Regions from separate parts of the Homo sapiens genome. Here all the other regions are linked to region 1. Evidence: promoter capture Hi-C in human tissues and cell types (Jung and others, 2019). All regions are on one chromosome and are shown on one strand. The core of a region is centred on a gene start or on the middle of the fragment in contact, and the rest is flanking DNA. Distances in the headings are between cores, read along the strand shown.

The links. The method cuts DNA at HindIII sites, captures the fragments that hold promoters and counts their contacts. A contact is called where the count stands out against the background at its distance.
Region 2: a contact is called between a fragment that was not itself captured here and the fragment with the promoter of SHISA6 in region 1, in 1 of the 25 tissues and cell types used here (thymus).
Region 3: a contact is called between a fragment that was not itself captured here and the fragment with the promoter of SHISA6 in region 1, in 1 of the 25 tissues and cell types used here (dorsolateral prefrontal cortex).
Region 4: a fragment that was not itself captured here is called in contact with the fragment with the promoter of SHISA6 in region 1 in 2 of the 25 tissues and cell types used here (dorsolateral prefrontal cortex and stomach).
Region 5: a fragment that was not itself captured here is called in contact with the fragment with the promoter of SHISA6 in region 1 in 4 of the 25 tissues and cell types used here (dorsolateral prefrontal cortex, hippocampus, mesenchymal stem cells and 1 more).
Region 6: a contact is called between a fragment that was not itself captured here and the fragment with the promoter of SHISA6 in region 1, in 2 of the 25 tissues and cell types used here (mesendoderm cells and thymus).

What each region holds. Positions count from the first base shown.
Region 1 is chr17:11,239,615-11,243,005 of GRCh38, forward strand. It overlaps SHISA6 (shisa family member 6), which reads left to right and starts at 1,599. Exons shown (of 6, transcript NM_207386.4): 1 at 1,599-2,446. The coding sequence starts at 1,809. The HindIII fragment of the contact is 17,378 bases long and covers 1-3,391 here.
Region 2 is chr17:11,632,546-11,635,936 of GRCh38, forward strand. DNAH9 (dynein axonemal heavy chain 9) reads left to right here. Exons shown (of 69, transcript NM_001372.4): 8 at 42-158. Among named protein-coding and RNA genes, the nearest start is that of DNAH9, 36 kb to the left of the region's middle. The HindIII fragment of the contact is 3,960 bases long and covers 1-3,230 here.
Region 3 is chr17:11,600,119-11,603,509 of GRCh38, forward strand. The region is part of intron 1 of DNAH9 (dynein axonemal heavy chain 9); the gene reads left to right. Among named protein-coding and RNA genes, the nearest start is that of DNAH9, 3.3 kb to the left of the region's middle. The HindIII fragment of the contact is 3,676 bases long and covers 1-3,350 here.
Region 4 is chr17:11,570,001-11,573,391 of GRCh38, forward strand. No RefSeq gene overlaps it. Among named protein-coding and RNA genes, the nearest start is that of DNAH9, 27 kb to the right of the region's middle. The HindIII fragment of the contact is 9,172 bases long and covers 1-3,391 here.
Region 5 is chr17:11,550,452-11,553,842 of GRCh38, forward strand. SHISA6 (shisa family member 6) reads left to right here. Exons shown (of 6, transcript NM_207386.4): 4 at 1,445-1,501. Among named protein-coding and RNA genes, the nearest start is that of DNAH9, 46 kb to the right of the region's middle. The HindIII fragment of the contact is 5,118 bases long and covers 1-3,391 here.
Region 6 is chr17:10,931,031-10,934,421 of GRCh38, forward strand. No RefSeq gene overlaps it. Among named protein-coding and RNA genes, the nearest start is that of PIRT, 95 kb to the left of the region's middle. The HindIII fragment of the contact is 5,656 bases long and covers 1-3,391 here.

The sequences.
Region 1 (3,391 bases), core at 349-2,848:
AATCTTGGCCTTGGCCATCGCTTTTTGTTCTCAGTTCCCCCTACCTCCTCCAAGGACACACGCCAAGGATGGTACTATGATTCTCTTTTGGGATGGCCTCGTAGCTGTGAAAGTTAGACTCAGGCCTCCTTTCCACAGACCCAGACACGCAACTACCCCGGAAAGCACCCCCGCCCTGCACCCCCATCCTCCTCACCTCCCATAGGAGCTGCAGCACAGAGATTTCAACACAGGGGTTACAAAGCTGAGTCTCAGAGGTTCAGATAGCTTTCTAATGGCCTCGAGGCTCCGCGGGGAAAAAAAAAAGTATAGCAAAGAGTTGCCATCCAGTCCTGGGGCTGTCTAGCGCCTTTATGCGTAGTGGGTACGGGGTTGGGGAAAGAGTGACCAAGGGGAAGAGAGTGTAGGCTCAGCTCACGGGTCGCCCAACAGCCTCAGACAAGCCACTTGACCCCTGGACTCAGTTTGGGAACCTGTAGCAATGGGTTTGACCTCTTCTCCTGGCTGCGAGTATCACCACTAGGGAGAGGCAAAGGCTTGCAGAAACCCCAACTCCCGCTCAGGCAGCGCGCTGCCCCGGGCTCCGGTAGGGTGGGGACTGGTCGCGAAGGCTAGAGAAGGCAATGGCAGGGGAGGTCAGTCCCTGCCGCGGGCCGGCTGCAGAGCGGACGTTCCGCCCTGCTCCCGGCCCCCTCTTCGCCCGCCGGGTTCGCCGTGTCGAATAACTGCTGTCCGGAGCTTTCGTGACGCGGAGCTTCAACTGCTGCGATCCGGAAGAAGCGAAAAGGAGTCCCCCCCGCCCCGCACCCTGAGCGCCCGGGCGTGCAAACGTGGGTGGCGGAGAGCGGCTGCCCTCCCCTCCCCTGTCCCCCCTCCCCTCGCGGCGCTCCCGTGTGTGCGGGTGTGTGAGTGCGTGTGTCTCCCTCGCTCACTCTCGCACACGTTCCGGCACTAGTGCAGGCGGCGAGCCGGCGGCTCTCCGCTCGCTCGCTCCGGCAGCTGCGTTCCCGCCTCGCCCCGCCGCCGCCGCCGCCGCCGCCGCCGCCGCCTCTGCAGTCGCAGCCGGGCATGGTGAGTGAGTGAGGTCCAGCCGCCGCGCGCTCTCCCGGCTCGCCGCCGGACCCCAGCCTCAACCGGCTCCGTCCCAGGGAGCCAGCCTGCGGCGGGAGCGCGCTGCGGGGCCGGGCGGCTGGGGGACCCGGGCGGCCGAGCTGCGCCTGGAGGGGCGGCCCGTGCGCTCTCGGTTCCAGGCGCGCAGGGCCGCGGGACCCCGTCTTGGGAGCGGGCTCTACGCCCCTCCCGGCTCCGAGTCTCTCTCCTCGAGGGCTGCGCGCACCCTCCCCGCCCGCCTGCCCGCGGTTCTCCTCCTGCTCCCGGAGCGCCAGTCGCCCCACCCCGTGACCGGCTCCCCGTCTTGTCCCGCAGGACCCGCCCGGACGGGACCACGCCGCCGCCGCCGCCGCCGCCGCCCGGAGCCGCGCTTCGGGTCCTGCCTGAGCCGAGCCGCGCGCGGGGCCGCAGTCACCGCCGGCGGGGGATGGGGCTGCCCAGGAGGCGCGCCGAGCCCGCAGGGGGAGCGCGGAGCCGGCGCGCAGCCTGAGAGCCCGAGCAGCCCGCGCCGGGCCGGTCCGTGCGCACCGCGCGCCGCCGCCGCCACTGCCGCCCGCGCCTCGATGGCGCCATCGCCCCGGAGCCGCTGACCGCTCAGCGCCTCCAGCCCGGCCCGCGCGGCGGGTCCTCCGAGCCCGGCCCGCCGGGGGAGCGGCCTGCCGCGGAAGCCTCCCCGCGCCCTCCCGCCCGGCCCCGCCATGGCGCTGCGGCGCCTCCTGCTGCTGCTGCTGCTCTCGCTGGAGTCCCTGGACCTGCTGCCCAGCGTCCACGGAGCCCGCGGCCGCGCCGCCAACCGGACCCTGAGTGCAGGCGGCGCTGCCGTCGGGGGCCGGAGGGCCGGGGGCGCCCTGGCACGGGGCGGCCGCGAGCTGAACGGCACCGCCCGGGCGCCCGGAATCCCGGAGGCGGGAAGCCGGCGGGGGCAGCCCGCGGCGGCTGTGGCGGCGGCGGCCAGCGCGGCCGTCACCTACGAGACGTGCTGGGGCTACTACGACGTGAGCGGCCAGTACGACAAGGAGTTCGAGTGTAACAACAGCGAGAGCGGCTACCTGTACTGCTGCGGTACCTGCTACTACCGCTTCTGCTGCAAGAAGCGCCACGAGAAGCTGGACCAGCGCCAGTGCACCAACTACCAGAGCCCGGTGTGGGTACAGACGCCCAGCACCAAGGTGGTGTCGCCGGGGCCCGAGAACAAGTACGACCCGGAGAAGGACAAGACCAACTTCACCGTCTACATCACCTGCGGGGTGATCGCCTTCGTCATCGTGGCCGGCGTCTTCGCCAAGGTCTCCTACGACAAGGCCCACCGCCCTCCACGGGAGATGAACATCCACAGGTGAGAGCGCCGCGTGCCGCGCGCCCCGGTCTCCCCGCGGCCTCACCCTCTCAGCTTGCTTCCCCTGTCCTCTTCACTCTCGGCATCATCACACCTCCCCAGGCCCTCTAGTCATTTCCACCATCGCTCCTTTTGCATGCAATAAATCAGGGTCTTCTTGTGCCCCCTCCTCCATTTCTTCAGAACCGGGAATGCATGCTTTGGTGGTAGGGGGATTTACAAGGCAGAGTAAGAATTGGTTGAGTGCATGAAGTTCCAAGTGTAAGAATGTTACAAATTCTGTAATCGTGGATGAGGATCCAGGGTTCTGCTTTCCTGGCATGAGGGCACTTTGGTGTAGGTTCTTAATGGCATTTAGTTTTTTGAGTCAAATCAGAGTGTCATCTTCAATATAGGAAACTGACCAATGTTGGAACCTTACTGAAAGCGGTACCAAGTGGCTTAGGGTCAACTGAGATGTTCTCGTACATTAGGAATTGGGGTTTTATAGAAAGGATGCCTCCTGCCGGAAGTAGGGATAAAGATTTCTCCATTCCATGTTGACCAAGCACAGATGGTGTCTCCTCATTGCATCCTGCGGAGTGGGATGTTTATCTTTCCTGCTGAGACTAGAGGACTCGTTCTTTGAAACCCTGTAGGCAGAACTCTGAGTTAACAGTACTCGCCTGTGTTAAACCTGGTGGGGCATCTTTCACTGCTTACGTTCGAAAGACAGTGGGAGCTGCCTCCTACCAAAACTTACGCCAAGAGCTCAAACTATGGCAGTCCCTGGTTGCACGCTGAATGCTGCCCCGACGCACCATCTTGCCCCCCAGTGAGCCCTTGGGGAAGTCAAAGCCAAGGGGATGACAGAAACCCAGCCTCCCCTTAGAACTCTAGGAATGACACACCCAGAGGATGCAGAGTTAGCTCGGCTTCCTGTCCCCTCATGTTGATGGATGGCTG
Region 2 (3,391 bases), core at 1-2,500, 390 kb after region 1:
GAAAATTACGTTTTCCTTATATATATATGGTGTCTCTTCAGGACTTTGAAAATGACGTCTCTGAATTTAACCAGAAAGTAGAAGATCTTGACCGAAGATTGGGGACTATCTTTATTCAAGCTTTTGATGATGCACCTGGCTTGGAGCATGCCTTTAAGGTTTGTGTAAATGGGGCAGGAGCCACTCGGTCCTGGATACTCCCCCGGCCCTCATCAGAGGATGATATGGATACCTTTCCACCTGTTCTGTTCCTGCAACTATTAATTATTCTTATTAATCTAGTAGAGAAGGATATGGGAATCCTTCTTATATCAAGAAAGTGTGCAGAATTGGGATTCTCAGGCTAATTACTTATGCTTTCCTGAAAATGTGACAATGTAAAAATACTTTTAAGAAGAATTTCTGCGGTGATCTCTTTAGGTGCCATACCTTTAGCAGTAGGGAAAGTGTGACCATGCAATACCATGGCTATTTAACCATGGCTGCTAGGTTGATTCAATCTGGAGCAAACCACCTCCCAGGTAATGATTGATAGGTTTCAGGCATCGATAACTGGAATAAGAAGATTTGTGCTCTTATCATATCACGCTCAGATCAGGTAATACAAAGTGTATGGAGGAGAAGGTTTAGGACAAGGCGTAGATGATGCATAGGTAAATGGCTGCACAGCTGAGAACGCTGCATCGTGAGACATGAAGACTCAGTGGAGCATGATATGTGTTCCACCAAGCAATCAAGAGGCTTATTCTGTAAAGCTTTAAGGGTTCCAGTAGTTGGTAGAAGTTACAAGAAGTCACATTGTGGTTCAGTAGAGGAAAGAGATTTCTGTCAAAGCTGTTTAAGATGGAATGGACTTCTTTAGCAAGTAGTTCAGTTTCTGGGCACTGAAAATGTTCAGACACAGGATCTGTGATGGGTGGGACAATTGTAGAAGAGGCTTAAACCCTGGATGGATGGATCTGTGCTATTCTAGAGTATTTGGTAACCCAAATGCGGCAGGCTCCATTAGCCATTGACCATACATATACATGTAGCCTTTAATCAATACCGTAATTCACATTGGAAGCCTTTTGAGATTCCCCTCTCCAAGCATTTGAACCAATTCCAAAGAAAGGGCTTGCATGTGTCTACAAAATGATCATGTATGCTATTAACTGTCAGGGATGATTGAAACTCTGCTGCTCAGGCAACTTGTGGGGCTGAAACTCCATTCGTGCACTAAGGATGCCCAGACCTACACATCACATAGATCCCTCTCTACCAGAGATGTTCAGGAGTCTTCAAGGGATGCCTCACAAGTATTCTCAAGCCACTTTGAAGTCTTTGAAATCACGACATCTGCTACATGTCTACAGACCCCCTTTAAATTTTATCTGCCAAGAAAAGTGCTTGAAGGAGTCTTGCCATTGCTTTTCTTCTGATGGTCCCCACCATGAAAACATGTCTGTGTGTGCCAAGGGCATGCCTCTTTGGGTTCCAGAATTCCAATCCTTGAAATTTTATGGGTTCTGGACAGAAGTAGAGGGAGACCTTCCCTCTACTGAAGCAGCACTGCTTGTACCCAGAGTTTCAGAGGGCTCATAAAAGCAGATTATTTATCTTCTGACCTTGACTCTTCTTCTCAGCTGAGCTTCCAGCCCAGGCCTTGGGAACTAGTAGGAAAACCATAACCCTCCGATCCCTTCTGCCTACTTTGTTTCTCTCTTTTTGGTGATCTCACCAACAAGAAACTAAAACCCTTCCTTCATCCCCAAGCAAAAGCAAAATCTCCAATTGACATAAGCTCATGCAGAGAAGAACATTTTCAAGGCTGGGGAGTAGGGACCAGAGAGAGTACCTGACTCTAGATCCCCTGTTGCTGCTGTAAGATCATCCAACTACTAGGTGGCCCCTCAGTGGACATGAATCCATGAGTACATCCAGGCCAAGGACTGTGAACAGACGGTGCAGGTTGGCCATGGTGGTCCCTCTGTGCACACACCTGTACTTCCTCAACAGAAGATGGGAGCCACAGAACTCGGAAAAGTCTGCTCTCTTATGCTTCCATTGAGGCAGAGCTACTTTTTACTGTCTCCAGAGATCTGGGTGATTGTTTTGTGAAAGAAAGTGTGACCCTAGATCCTCCCCAATGGAAGGCTTTTTAGCACCTTTACAGAGTCCTTAGAGTGCCTTGGAATCATTAAGGAAATCCAGTCAAACTGTCAGACCTGGAAAACATCTGGCCAAGGACCCCATATTTGGCTTTTCTCCATACCTGGTCATTCTGCATAACATGGCCTGGATGCCTCAGACTTCTAGGAGCCATCTAAGATTGTGAGCTGATGCCAATCAGCTCCTAGAGCTTGCACTCCCTCCAGGATTGGGATGCCAGTGAAGCAAAAAAATGGCCCAACCTGAAATAAGGAGGTAGGATAAAGAGCATAAGGTCTTAGACAAATGCAGACTGTTCAGCTTCCAGTTTTAGGACATGTGGATGTAATTTTATATCGTGTTTCTCATGTTCGTTGACTTAAAGCAAGGGTTCCACATTTTTTTCTACAAAAGGTCAGAGAATAAATATTTTAGACTATGGGTACATGTGTTTTCTGTCACACACTCTTTTTCATTTTATTATTTATTATTTTTATTTATTTATTTTTGAGACAGAGTCTTGCTCTGTTGCCTAGGCTGGAGTGCAGTGGTGCGATCTCAACTCACTGCAACCTATGCCTTCTGGGTTCAAGTGATTCTCATGCCTCAGCTTCTCGAGTAGCTGGGATTACAGGCACACGCCACCATGACTCGCTAATTTTTTTTTTTTTTTTTTTTTTTTTTTTAGTAGAGACGGGTTTTGCCATGTTGGCCAGGCTGGTCTTGAACTCCTGGCCTCAAGTGATGTGCCTGCCTCGTCCTTCCAAAGTACTGGGATTATAGGCATGAGCCAGAGTGCCCGGCCCTCTTTTCAATTTTTTTAATTCTCTTTTGAAATGCAAAAACCATGCACTGAGCAGTTTTGGGCAGATTTGGCTGCCCACTGCTGTACTTCGTCACCCTCTGACTTCAAGTGCTAGGTGGAGATGAGAGGTTATCATGGAAGGCACGTTTAGAAGCAGTGTATTGGTATATCCTAAATATAACTGGAGTCCTACATGGCCTCATCTCAGAAAAGCATCACAATGGAAGAAACACAGTCTAGGAGCCAGAAAGTAATTAAAAGCATTTCACATCTTGATTTTGCTGCTCCATGAAACACTGAGGGGTTAGGGCAGTCTGAATGCACAGGAACACATCTTCAGAGAAAGGTCAGCATCACTGCCATTCTCACGGCACCTGCTCTCAGAAACTATTTCCTTGTTCCCATTCTCAAATTTTTGCCCTTCAAATTCTCCCCAACATCCAGCCAACTTAGCTT
Region 3 (3,391 bases), core at 263-2,762, 360 kb after region 1:
TAGATATGGAGGTATTTCAATATTTTAACAAACAGAATGGTCTTGCAACTGTGCATTGTCTGAAAGCCATCCCGCTGAAGCCTGAACTTAGATCAGCTTCTCTAATGAATGTTGACGATAGAAAGTACTTTTGGCTTCAGAGGAGAAAGACAGGCCTGTGATCTGAGAAGCATGCTTAACATAAGTGTTGAATTGTCTCCTGAACAATTAGAAGAATTTGTATAAGTAGAGAGCAAGGTAACTTTCAAGATACTGAGAGCAGACTGATCAAAGGTTCAGAGACAGGATTTAACCTAGTGTATGTGGGAGACAGAAGGCCCATCTCAGAGTTGTGTCATGGCCAAGCAAAGTAGTCCAGCAAGAAAAATAATTTTAAAATAATGAAAATTCTCGAATGTTTAAGAATTTTCATTGGTGCATTGAAAGAGATTGGAGACAAACAATGTTCATCAACAGGGGACTGGGTGACTGAATTATGGGCCATCTATACAGTGAAATACTTTGCAACTATTAAAAAGAATGACTGATATGGAATATTCCTTTTTTTGAGGCAGGGTCTTGCTATGTTGACCAGGCTGGTTTCAAACTCCTAGACTCAAGTGATCCTCCTGCCTTGGCCTCCCAAAGTGCTGGGATTACAGGTGTGAGCCACCATGTCCAACCGGAGTTATTCCTTAGGGTAATTTTTTCCTTGTGGCAAAAAAAACACATGACGTAAAATTCACCCAACAATTTCCAAGTGTAGAGTACAATATTGTCAACCACATATGCATTATTGTGCAACACATCCTCAGAACTGCCCCGTCCAGCATCACTGAAACTCCACACACACCCAGCAAGCCACACATCGCTCCCCTGAGCTCCTGGCTAGCACCATTCTACTTTCTGTTCCTATGAACCTGACTCATCATATAAGTGGAATCATGCAGTATTTGTTCCTTCTGACTGACTTATGTCACTTAGCATAATGTCCTCAAGGTTCATCCATATCGTCACCGCCTATCGTCATATGCGGGATTTCTTTCTTTTTTTAACAATATTCTATTGTATGTATATACCACATTTCTAAAAAATTTATCCATCATAGACACTTAGGATGTTTCTGTCTCTTGGTTTTTGTGAATAATGCTGCAATTTAAGATAATTTTTTAAAGAAGTGCAGAATTGCATGGATGGTATGCTACTATTTATGTTTAAAAAAGAAAGGAGGGGAAGAAGAGAGAAAGGAAGGAGGGAAGGGAGGGTGGGAGGGAGAGAGGGAGGGAGGAAGAGAGGACATTCTTTAACAGTAATCCACAAGAAGGAGAAACAGTAACTGAAGTACAGGGGTAGGTGGAAGATTTACTTCCCACTGTAAAAGCTTTTGTACGTTTAAATTTTTGCCCCATGTAAATGTATTACCTATTTTAAAACCTAAATAAATAACTTATTTTAAAAATAACTCAAGTCCTTTCCTTGCATTTCTCAAAGCTTGTACCAGTAACTTTATTCCACTTTCTGTCCATCCATCTACTTTTATTCCATACCCTGAAGCTGATCCAGTGTCTCTTTCAAGGCTTGTTGGCCTCCCATCTGCTAAGACCCTCCTTCTGGCCCAGCCCTCCTGTCCACCCCCTCTCCTCTCTCTCAGCACCTTGTAATCAGCTTAATAGTCTCTGATTACCTGCTCCCCTTTTCCTTCCACCTCCCCATGCAGCATCGCTAAAGCCAGAAGAACCTACCTGGCTGAGAGACGTCTTCCTGCCTTGTGTGTGTGTGGGCGGGGCGGTTTGGGGGTAGGATTGAGGGTGTTGGCTGAGAGAAAGCTGTAATTTTAATATTATTTTTGTTCCATTCTACGAGTACAAGGTAAAAAAGGAAAATGTGCCTAAGAAATGTTTGAAAGGAAGAATTAACAGAATTTAGTAACTTGTTCTCCTACTTCCTTACTTCCTCCTCCAACCACATCATTCACTACTGCCAACTTATTTTTCCTAGCTCTGAAACTTGGATTTTTTTTTTGACTTTTTGCATTTTGGAATGTGAGCATAAGATTTGGAATCTCACAGACCTAAGTCAAATTCTGGTTAAATTCAGCAGTGTGATGTGAGCAGATGTGCTCACTCTGCCAGGTCCAAAACTGTCTTGCAGGGTTGCTATGAAATTTAGACATCATATATTAGAACACCTGGAATAGAGTGTCACACTGCAGGTGTTCCATAAAGGATGAGAATTCTTGTCACTCTTCATCCTATTTAAAATCCTCCTCACCCATCTGATGGATCCTTGTCACCTTGCTGTAACCCATCCTGGCTCCTCCTGGAGGACTCAGCTGCGTTTCCCCTACAGCCTTCTCCTAAGCCTGGAGCTGGGGCAGGTGGCCTCCTTGTTCCTCCTTGCTGCTCTAGATCCACATCAAAAAGCCTCCAGTTTGAATCTCCTGTCATCAAAGGACATCATCCACTCTCACTGCTGCATCCTGTACAGATGGTGCTACCCTTGCGTGTGTATGATTTTGCCTCCCAACTCACTGTGGCTCTCCCCAACATTACTTCTAATATGTGGTTATTTCCAAAGACATGTGAATGACCCTTCCAATAACTTGGCCTCTGGGTTCTCTGTATCTTTGTCCTCCAGTGATCTTGTCCTCCTCCCGATCATAAGCAGCCCCTCCCATGGCCATTTCCAGACCTTGCATTCCCAACAACCACCAACCTCATTGTCCAATTTTATGCACCTCCTTCTCTGACCACTACTCCCATCTTTCCAGCTCACTCTCTCTCATACCCTGACTACAACAGTCCTTTGATCCTGCTGGGAGCTCCAATCTCTTGACCTTGGCTCCTTCCCATTGGCCCTGGACCATGCACACGGTCTCTTCTCTTACCCAATTTGAGTGCCATGCTCCTTCATGATCATCATACCCTTGCATCAGCTCCTGATGTACTGGCCTCTACCTCACTATGTCATACTCAGTTGGTGCAACCACAATCCTGGTAAAACCCAGCTCTACATACTTCATACCTGCACCCATTAAATTAAAAGAGACCAGGGAAAAACCAATGGGCTCCTCTTTAAATACACGACCTCTCGAACTGCTAAGTAAGCCTTTTATGTTTCCCAGCAGACATTCTATTTTTTTTCTATTCCAACTATATTTTCTTGCTCTTTTAGATCACTATTTCCCAACGTGAGAAACAATTTGAAAAGAAAAATCTTTCTTCTTTCAAATGTCCAAAACCTCCTGTTAACCTCACTCTGAGACGCTCTTGCTTCTTTCTTGGTTTTTTAAGAAACGGAAACGAGAATAACAAGTCCACGAACTCTTATGTCCACTTTGACTGCAGCATCTCTCCTTGTATCTTCTGCCATCCCATCCGTTGCTAGAGGTAAACTGTTTGTGCTGCCCTCT
Region 4 (3,391 bases), core at 549-3,048, 330 kb after region 1:
AAATAACTATATTTTCCAAAAAAAAGAATTAGTAAAAAGAGTGGAATTGTTTTACATTTTTTGCAAAGTTCTTTAATGTTGTGCTTAGTGGAAGATAACCAGATTCTGATGTCTGCTTCTGCAGTTACTCTCTTGCAGTATAACATCTCGTGCAGCCCCCAAAGGCAGCCTGGTGAACACAGGAGGAGGAAGGGAAGCTCCAACAGAGGAAAGAGAAAGAAGCCCATTTTCCCCCTGCCACTGGTCAGCCCAAAGTAAAACTGAGTTGAGGGCTGGAAGAAGCTTTAGTTTTACAGTAATTTGGAAGCTGTTAATATTACAATGGTCTGGGACTACTAATTATTAGGCTGGGAAATTACAAAATGACTTTCTATTTTCTAACAATAACCTGAAAAGTAGGGAATGGAAAAAAGGAATGAAATTTCTTACTGGTGACACACTTGGGTTTACTTGCTTGGCATAATGGTTATACAAGCAAACACACCTGGCAAAGGACCTGTGCAAAATACCCCAGATTGAGGAAGAAGGAACGTTGTACTAAAGACTTGAAGGAGGGGCATACAATTACAGGATTAAGGAACTGTATGAGATCCTTGATAGACTACAAGAAGAGAAGATAAGTCTTTTACGAACGAGGAACAATCTTCATGAGAGAACAAGACAGGATAGAAAGGAGACGAGATTCATGGACATCTGGGTCTTTGCCTTCCATCGATCATCCTGGCCACCATCCTATGTCCCCCACACCTCTTGATAACAGACTCCAACCCTACTTCAGTCACCAGTGTAGGCAATGGCTCAAGCCAGACCAACTGCAGTCTTTTTCTTTAATTTCCAGACAGAAATGTAAAGAGAGAAAATGTCTTCCTTGTCAGGGACTGGACCTTAATGATACAAATCTAGGGCTACCATAGCCTTGTCCTACACTATATGGGGAAAGAATGAAGGTGATGAAAGAGGAATAATGATAGCTAACATTCACTCAATGCTAACTGTGCACTTGGTACTATCAAAGCACTTTGCAGGCATTAACCCACTGAATCCTCATACCATCTCTTATGAGGTTAGAACTACTGTGTGTCCCATTGCTAAGGAATTTGCCCACATCCTAAGGAAAAGGAGAAGCCATTGATGGGCCATGGGATGTATGGGAGGAAGATTAAGGTCACCCTTCAGAAGATGACTAGAGCTGTCCTGTAGAACATGGATTTGATGAAGTTCATGTTGAAGGGCAGGTAGACCAGTGAGGAGCAGTGTGGTATTATGCTGAGACATGCACCAAATCAGAGCTGTAGGTGTGGACTTCAAATTTCAGTTGCAGAGAGCAACATAGTGGTCATTTAAGGATTCTGAGTCATTTTCTGGTTATTTTAAAATTATACTGACCAGGCGCGGTGGCTCACGCCTGTAATCCCAGCACTTTGGGAGGCCGAGGTGGGCAGATCACCTGAGGTCAGAAGTTCAAGACCAGCCTGGCCAACATGGTGAAACCCCGTCTCTACCAAAAATACAAAAATTAGCCAGAGGTGGTGGCGCACTCCTGTAATCCCAGCTGCTCGGGAGGCTGAGGCAGGAGAATTGCTTCAACCTGGGAATTGGAGGTTGCAGTGAGCCGAGATCATGCCACTGCACTCCAGCCTGGGCAAGGGAGCGAGACTCCATCTCAAAAAAAAAATTATACTGAATGATCTGAATTATTGATTTTTAAAAATATACACTAATATACTACTTAGCAGTAGCTTGCATTTATCACAAATCCTCTTTCTATTTATCTTCTATCTAGGACTGTGATTATTCTGATGTATAGTATGCTTAAAAGTCAGGATTGTGTGTGTGTAAAATGTGTAGATAAAAGAATAAGTAAATATATCAATAAGTAAATTATGTTGGCACTGGGTGGTGGGACTCTATCTGATTTATAGTGATTTATTTATATTTCTTTTTATTTTCTATCATTTCTAAGCATACATTATGCCTGTGTTCAGAAAATAATCAGTATTTGTCATGTTACTAATATCATAGGATCATTATATATAAATCTATAATAAATGCATATATGTATAAAATGTGTGTACATAGATCATCCCTGACTTATGGTGGCTTGATTTACAACTTTTTGACTTTACAATGGTATGAAAATAATACATGTTCAGTAGAAACTGTACTTTGAATTTTGACTTTTTCCCAGGCTAGCCTTATGTGGTACAATATTGTCTTATGACGCTGGGCAGTGGCCAGGAGCCACAACTCCCAGTGAGCCCCACCATCACAAGGGCAAACAACCAATTCAAGGGCAAGCAACCAGTTCTGTTCTCTACAGTGTACTGTTTTCAATAAATCACATAAGACATTCAACACTTCATTAGAAAATATGGCTTTGTGATAGGTAATTTTGCCCAACTGTAAGCTAATGTAAGTGTTCTGAGCATGTTTAAGGTAGGCTGGGCTAAGCTATGCTGCTCAGACGGTTAGGTGTATTCAATGCATTTTCGACTTACAATATTTTCAACGTATAATGACTTTATCAGGATGAATACCCATCAAAAGTTGAGGAGCATCTGTGCATATGTGCATGCATTCGTGTATGTGTGTGTGTGTGTAACAAAATAACTAGAAGAAAACTACTCCAAATTACTAACGGTGTTAGTGAATCTTGGTAATTTTTAAATTTCTTTTTACTTTAATGTATTTCCCAGTTTTCCATAATAAGCATGCATTACTTTTTTAATGGAAAAAACAAAATTCATTCTTTTAATATTGAAAAGTAGTGAGGTTGGAGGGCTCACTTTAAACAAAGATGCCACACCTCCCTGAAAATGGAGCAGCAAATGTTTTGGCCATTCTCCAGCAGGGCCTTCTACATAAAGAAGCCACAATACTCACATGATGGTTGGCTTAAATTAGGAAAACTCAGTGGAACTGGGAGCAACTCTACTGAGCATCCACCTTAAGGTGGATCTTTGCCCCCTTTTTCTTTGTTTCCAGGGCAGGGCTTTTATCACTGGATAATTAGCTCTGCCTTTTTTGTAAAGTACTTCTAGCTGTGACTGGGGAACTGGTGGATTATCAGTTGCAACAGGGCCAGGTGGGCTGGATGAATGTCATGCCCTCTCCAGTCTGTCCAGACCCCATCACTCCCTACTGGATTCCTTATAAGTCAATTACTACTGCCTTTAAAAAGAATTCCTGTCCAGGTGCGGTGGCTCACGCCTGTAATCCCAGCACTTTGAGAGGCCGAAGCAGGTGGATCACCTGAGGTTGGGAATTCGAGACCAGCCTGACCAACATGGTGAACCCCATTTCTATGAAAAATACAAAATTCCCCGGGCATGGTGGTGCATGCCTGTAATCCCAGCTACTCGGGAGGCTAAGGCAGGAGAATCACTTGAAC
Region 5 (3,391 bases), core at 654-3,153, 310 kb after region 1:
TTGTCTTGGAAATTGAGAGTGGAGCTAAAAGAAATCTTGACAAAAAGGTCTATTATGGGCCTGGATTTAGGAGATGGCTACAGGGAAGAGGACTTTGGGATACACTGGATATGGAGAATGACAGGAGGAAAATGGTGACGATGATTGAAGTTTCACATTCCAGGCCCACGGAACAACAGTACCATGGACAGAAGCCTGGACACCAGAATAAAATGAGGAGCTCACTTTGGGACTTAATGATTTGGGGTGAGGGTAGGAATTTCAAGGGCATGTCCATAAGCATAAAATCTAACCCTACAGATCAAGATGGACCTTGAGCTAGAGTTGTAGATTTGGGAACTATTAATCTGGGCAAGTGGATGTAAACCTTGGAGTAGAGCTGAAGTCTTCACAAAGATGCCTGAGCATTATGAAGCCCTGGTATTTACAGAATAGAAGGGGAAATGGGACATAGTGAAGGAGCTATGGAATGAGTAGCCAGAGTATAAGGCCAAAGGCAGGAAAGAAGGCTTCAGTCACAAGATGTAAAGAAATGAAAGCAGATATTCTAGACTGCAAGAAGGACAGGGCTGTAACCTGCGGTTTAGGTAAACTAAAGCAAAGGCCTCATGCCTCCTCTTCCCTTTGCTTTAGTTGAAATCAGATACATGCAACAATGAAAAACAAGAACATAATGTTCAGTTGAAGCAATCATAGAATGCCAGAGTGCACTGTAGTGGTCAGCCACATTTTCATTCAAACAATTTTAAAAGCTTTTGGAACGCCTTGAACTTCAGGGTTTGGCAACTGTAACTGTGTTAATTGTGTGGCTTATTCCATCTAAGTGGAATATTATTAATAAAGGAAATGCCTTTGAACTATTAGACTGTGTCATTTAAAGGCAGGACAGAGCCTAGAATCCAGGACTCCTGATCTCAGGCAGTGGACAGCTCAGGTCATCTTGCTGCATCTCAGGATGCATCCAGACCCTCCTGTATAAAGGCTTAGGGACAAATCAGAGTCCTGTAAAGTGGAAGCGCCTTAAGTCAGGGCACCCTCATTTTGGTTAACCACACCCTAATACCCACCACTCAATGAAATCTGCTTCCCCGGCTTAGTTCCCCCACCCTGTCCATGCACGCATGCATGCATACCTGCCAAACACTCCCTACTCTCCATCCTTCTCCTCTTCCACCCACCCCTACGAAGCCTCTATAACTAGTTGGCCTCATCCCGAGATGTGGGTGGGTCACCATGGTGACAGAGGAAACCCTGTTGCAGAAGGAGAGAGACAGAAACAGCAGGGGACGTTTCTTGGAGCCTCATACAATGACCTCTGCCTTTCTTAGAAGTGCTTCCTTTAAGTCAGAGAAGCACATTAGAGGTAAAGAGAGATGCTGTTATGTTGGAGAGATAGTGGAATGCCTGAACTCTTCTTTAAAAATTTCTTTTCTATGATTTTCAGGTGATCATCAATATAACCATCCGATTTTGAGCAGTGTTACCCAGATCCCGCCACATGGTGAGAGATGATTGAGAGCACTCTGCATTTCCTCCTTATTTCGAGTGGCACCATTCTAAGGATGGATGCCTATCAGGGCATCAAACACACGGTCATAAACTCACTGAAGCTAAGGAGGTCCAAGGAGCCACAGGCTCGCCCTCCTCCAGGGCCACAATGCTCTAATCTCACTTGTAGGCTATTTTCCCCTTGGTGTTTCTGTCTCCGATATCAGAATGATCTCTTGACATAAACAGAAAGGGGCTAGACCCATTTCTACTTGCCACCTGTATCACTTCTTACAGTCATAAATTCCATATGTCCACAGCAAGGAGTGGAACACCCTCCTTTGTTCAAAGCTATTTGTGATATCATTTACGAAAGACATGAGACTTGGTTAAACTTTATGATCCTCCCCAGGCTAATTAAGATTTGATAAAACTCAAAACTGATTTGGGCTTTAGCCTCTTGGCAGAAAAAAGAGGCTGAAAATTGTTGAGTGGAGGAGTGTTAGCATAGTGCCCAAGGGTTATAAAACTATGTTTCCCTCTTAGATTATAATATCCTCCCACCAGATCACAGCTGAACAGAGAAAATCTATTTTTGGCACCTGCTCAAGACTTGATAGAACATAAGACAGCCACATAAATTGCGAATTATCAGTCATTTTTGTCTCTTTGCTGTGAAAGAGTGAAAACATCATTAAAATTTTAGTGAGAGAGAAACTCAAAACAATGATAAATCCTACAGGCTACCTGGTAGAGAGACCTACCACTGTTATGTCAGATTATGGTGTGCCTCAGCACTGAAGTTGAGGGATATTATAATTAGGAGGAAGAGATTGGAATATTTTCATGTGCTATGCTCCAGGTGGAAATAAATGATGAAAGCAATAGTATAATCAGATTTGTCAGGTTGTGGGGTCTAAAAAGTTAGAACTGGGAGAAACTGGGGAGATCAGTGAAAAGAGGTTGATACCAGTGGTGATGTTGACAGTGGGAAAAGAAAGGACGGTTGAGATATGAAACCTTTTGAAGAAAGAATTGGAGAAAGTTCCTTACTAACTGAATGTGGCTGATGAGAGCCAATGATGACACTGATTAGAAAAATGAAGGGTTTTATTAACAAAATCTAAGGAATCAGGAAAACAGTCAGTATGTATGGGGGATGGAGTTGTCAGTGAGTTTGGATCTGGACACCTGGAGTTTGCAAGAAAAAAATATTCAACAGGCAGGAATGCAGACATGAAGTCTGGAGGAAGGTTAGAGCTGAAGATGTGAGTGAAGCTTTGGAGGCAGTAACAGAAGCCTCAGGAGTGGGGGCACTCTACACTGAAAGAGAAGTGCAGAAGGCAGAGGCAGGGAGCCTGGGGGATGCCCACAGTGATGAAGCAGCCTCAGGAAGAGCCAGAAAAGGCACGCAAGGAGAGCTCCCACTTGCTCAGTCACACTACCCAGCTCATTTTCCTGAGAAGGAGCCAACACAAGCAGACTCCTGAATACAACAGGAGGAGCCATTCTTCCCTCCTTCTCTTCCTGTCTTCTTTTTTCCAACTGGTGCAAGGAGATGGGGGTTGATGAGACCTGGTCCCTGCCCTTGAGCAGCTCACAATGTAGTGAGAGTAGAGTTTTCTCTGCATTGCTTTCTTGGATGTTCCCTTCTTTCCCAGGAGCTGGCAGAGTGACTATCAAGCGAGGAGGGGGCCTGAGTCTACTTAATTAGTGTTCCACAAAGAGCATTAATTGGATCCTTATTCTGGGCCAAGCACTATGAAGGATTCAAAAAAAATTGGAAAGCAAGGCCCTGCTGTCAAGGAGATTGCAATATTTGGAGATCCACAATCCCAACTCAAGTCAAATTATTAGAGATGTTAGATACTAAAGTGGGTGGAACTGACTAGAAGAGCAATAC
Region 6 (3,391 bases), core at 250-2,749, 310 kb before region 1:
TGCAGTTCAGGGACTGCTGGGTTGGTGTTTACATGTGTGGTGAGAAATGCTTCCTGCTGTCTCTTCTAAAGACACTCTCTTATGCTTTGCACTTTCTCCAGCCAGTTATTGCACATCAGAAACACCAGGGGAGCTTTCAAAGCTTTGGGCTCCCTGGGGTTCACCCTAGTCCATCTTTATTAGAATCTTCAGTGGTGGAGCACAGGCATTGACATTTTTTAAAAGCACCTCCAGAGTTTCTAATGGGTAGTCAGGACTGTGAGCTACTGATCCAGCCAGACTCAAACCCCATGAGTCATTAACCTTCACCAAGTTAAATAACTAATCCGCCACAAAGGAAAAATCCTGCAAATCTGGAGCAGCTGTCGATAGTGTTATAGAAAGTGATTTGTTTTCATCCTGGAGTCTTCCAGCTGCTGGAGAAGCTGAATAACCCTTTATGGGACTGGACAAATTCGAGAAGGACTAGGACAATGATGTCTGGGCTTGTCTTCTGGGTCCCCTTCAACCTCTGACTACAGTATTGCAGTATTGCTACCTAAAGAGCCAGGGTGGAGATTTCAGCAAACATTTGGTAATAAAATCCCAGGGGATTGGATCCTGCCGCATGCACACCCCTATGAAGATTCCACTGGGCCAGAATTCCACGGCTGCACATGTTCTGACTCGCAAATTCTTAGACCCATCTTCACCTGGAGAGAGGTCAAAGGTGATGTGCTGGTAATTGTGAATCTGCCTTAATTATGGCAAGTTAAGTTTTGCTAAGAGCAGATTTTTGGGTCCAGCACTGTCCTACACAATCTAGCCAATTCTAAGCCCCAATGAATCAAAGAACTGTTAAGCTCTGCCAATCAGCTGGGCTCCCACGTGTGACCTGCAGCCACTCACACTCAAGCATCAGACATTTGTCTGTATTCCTTTTGGTCAAACAGAATATTCACCACTCTCCAGTTCTGTGGACACCTGCCTAGGTGAACACTGGCAGCCATGAAATTCTGTCCCAGTGGAATTTTCACAGTGGTGTAACCCACAGGCAGGGTTCTTAAGGCTTCAAAGGGCAGAAGGACAAGCTCACCTTTCTCCTAAGCTATATCAGCTTTTTTTAATCCACAGGAGATGCCGATTTTCTGCGTTTGCAACAGCCAAATGAGTTTTGTCCTATGCACAAGACAAGTTGTAATTTATCAAATCCACTCATACTCTTTTCCCTTGCTTTTTACCCAGACAAAGAATGCAGCAGAGAGGTTATTAAATTCTTTTCTAGGGGTGAAATATATAAAAAAGCTGTGTGAGTCAGTAATGCACTCCAAGAATTTAAGTAAATTTGTTATGCTTGATCTCACTGTTATGAAGCCAAATTTGCCGCTCTTTACAAGATAATACACAAAAATATATATTCAGCACACACAGCCCCTAATATTCCCTGCTGCTCTCAACAATAGGAGCTGAGCTTCCTGCTTTAGCTCATATTTTTCTGAATAAGAGGAAATGTATGAACAATTTTCTGTTCCTTCGTCTTGTGCCTGGAATTTCAACCACATTCCTAGAAGGCTTTTCAGTGGTTCTTCCCCATAGTTCAGTGATTCTACTGGGCTACTGTATTTATTCACATTTAATGGTACAGAAAGTCCCACTTTTAGATACAATGCACACTTGGAAACTGTCTTAGAAGTGACTTGCATATAAATGAAATTGACTGCATGTATGATAATTCTGCCTTTGCTTATCTGGTTATCAAAGAAATAAATGTTTATAGAACATTTGTTTATGGAGCCCCTAATATGTTCCAAGCTCTGTACAGGACACTTCACTACATTAGTTCATGTAATTCTCACAGTAGCCTTGCAAGATAGATATTATCTCAGTTTATAGATGATAAGACAGTGTCAAGAGATATTATATTTCCTGCTCAAGATCAGACATTGCCAAATGTCCCCTGGGGGACAAAACTGCCCCTCAGTGAGAACCACTGACCTTGACCATAGGAGTGTGAAAGTAGCTGTACCTAAACACATCCACTTTCAAGTCTTCTTTGAGCCTCATAATGTCGAGTTCAGCCCTTTGCCGTCAGTGGCAGGCCGGCCCCATCTTAATGTGAATGTGCAAAGGTCAGCAGATATGCCATGTCAGGTAGGAAACAGAATTTTGTGTTAGTGCATTCCCACACTGCTATAAAGACATACCTGAGACTGGGTAACTTACGATGAAAAGAGGTTTAATTGGCTCATGGTTCTGTAGGCTATACAGGTTTCTGCTTCTGGGGAGGCCTTAGGAAATTTACATAGTAGAAGGGGAAGGGGAAGAAAGCACATCTTCACATGGCCAACAGGAGAGAGAGAGTGGGGGCGGGGCAGTGCTACACACTTTTAAACAAGCAGATCTCAAGATCTCATGAGAACTCTATCATGAGACTGCAATAGGGGGATGGTGCTTAACCATTAGAAACTACCCCCGTGATCCAATCACCTCCAACCAGCCTCCACCTCTAACATATTGGGGATTACAATTCAACATGAGATTTGAGTGGGGATACAGAGCCGAACCATATCAACTTTGAAATGTCATTTTGCTTCCACTGTCCCTGAGCTTTCTCTGCTGGGAGCTGTAGGCCGTGGTTATAGGTGACACAACTCTGGCCCTGCACCTTGTTGTACAAAGTCAAGGCACTGGGTGATCGGTAGACTGCACATTAGGATTCCTCTTGGAAGCCATTACTCTGTCAGGACAGCTAGCAATAACTTTGTTATATATGGAAGTGACTGCCAACCATGTAAATATATCCACCTAACTTCAAATTATATTCCCAACTCAATTTACCTTTAACTGTATCTCCAAAATGCTCATGGCCATCCCAGTGCCACCAGATATGAAAGAAGGTATGATGGAGGAGAAGTCAAAGAAGAAATACTGGTCCTGACCAATTGAGATTAAAATATTTGACTTTTGAAAATTTCACAATAACAAAGTGACTGTGGAGAAATATTACTAGGTCCCTCCAGGAATGTGGAAGTAGCCTGTGTAGGTGAAGGGTTGTGAAGCTTAAATTTTGTTAGCTTCACAGTAAAGACACCTTATTAGGCAGCCTTTGCTTACTCTTCTCCCTGCCTCTCATTATCTTGTTTGATATAAAAGAGTATTTGTGAATAAGCAAGGGTGACAGGTTATTTCTTGGCTTTTGACCTAGGATCCCTGGTAGTGTGAAACATGTAGGCTTAGTCTAAGACCTAGACCCCTTTTTAGATTTGCATATTTGTCAAAGGTGAAAGAATAAATTTCTCAAAATTTGTCAGTCTTGAGTTGAGGGATAGCAAGGACACATGAGCATCTGTCAAGATTGTCACTGTATTGGCCCCAGAGGTATGCTGTGGGGGGATTCAAGATGTATACAGCC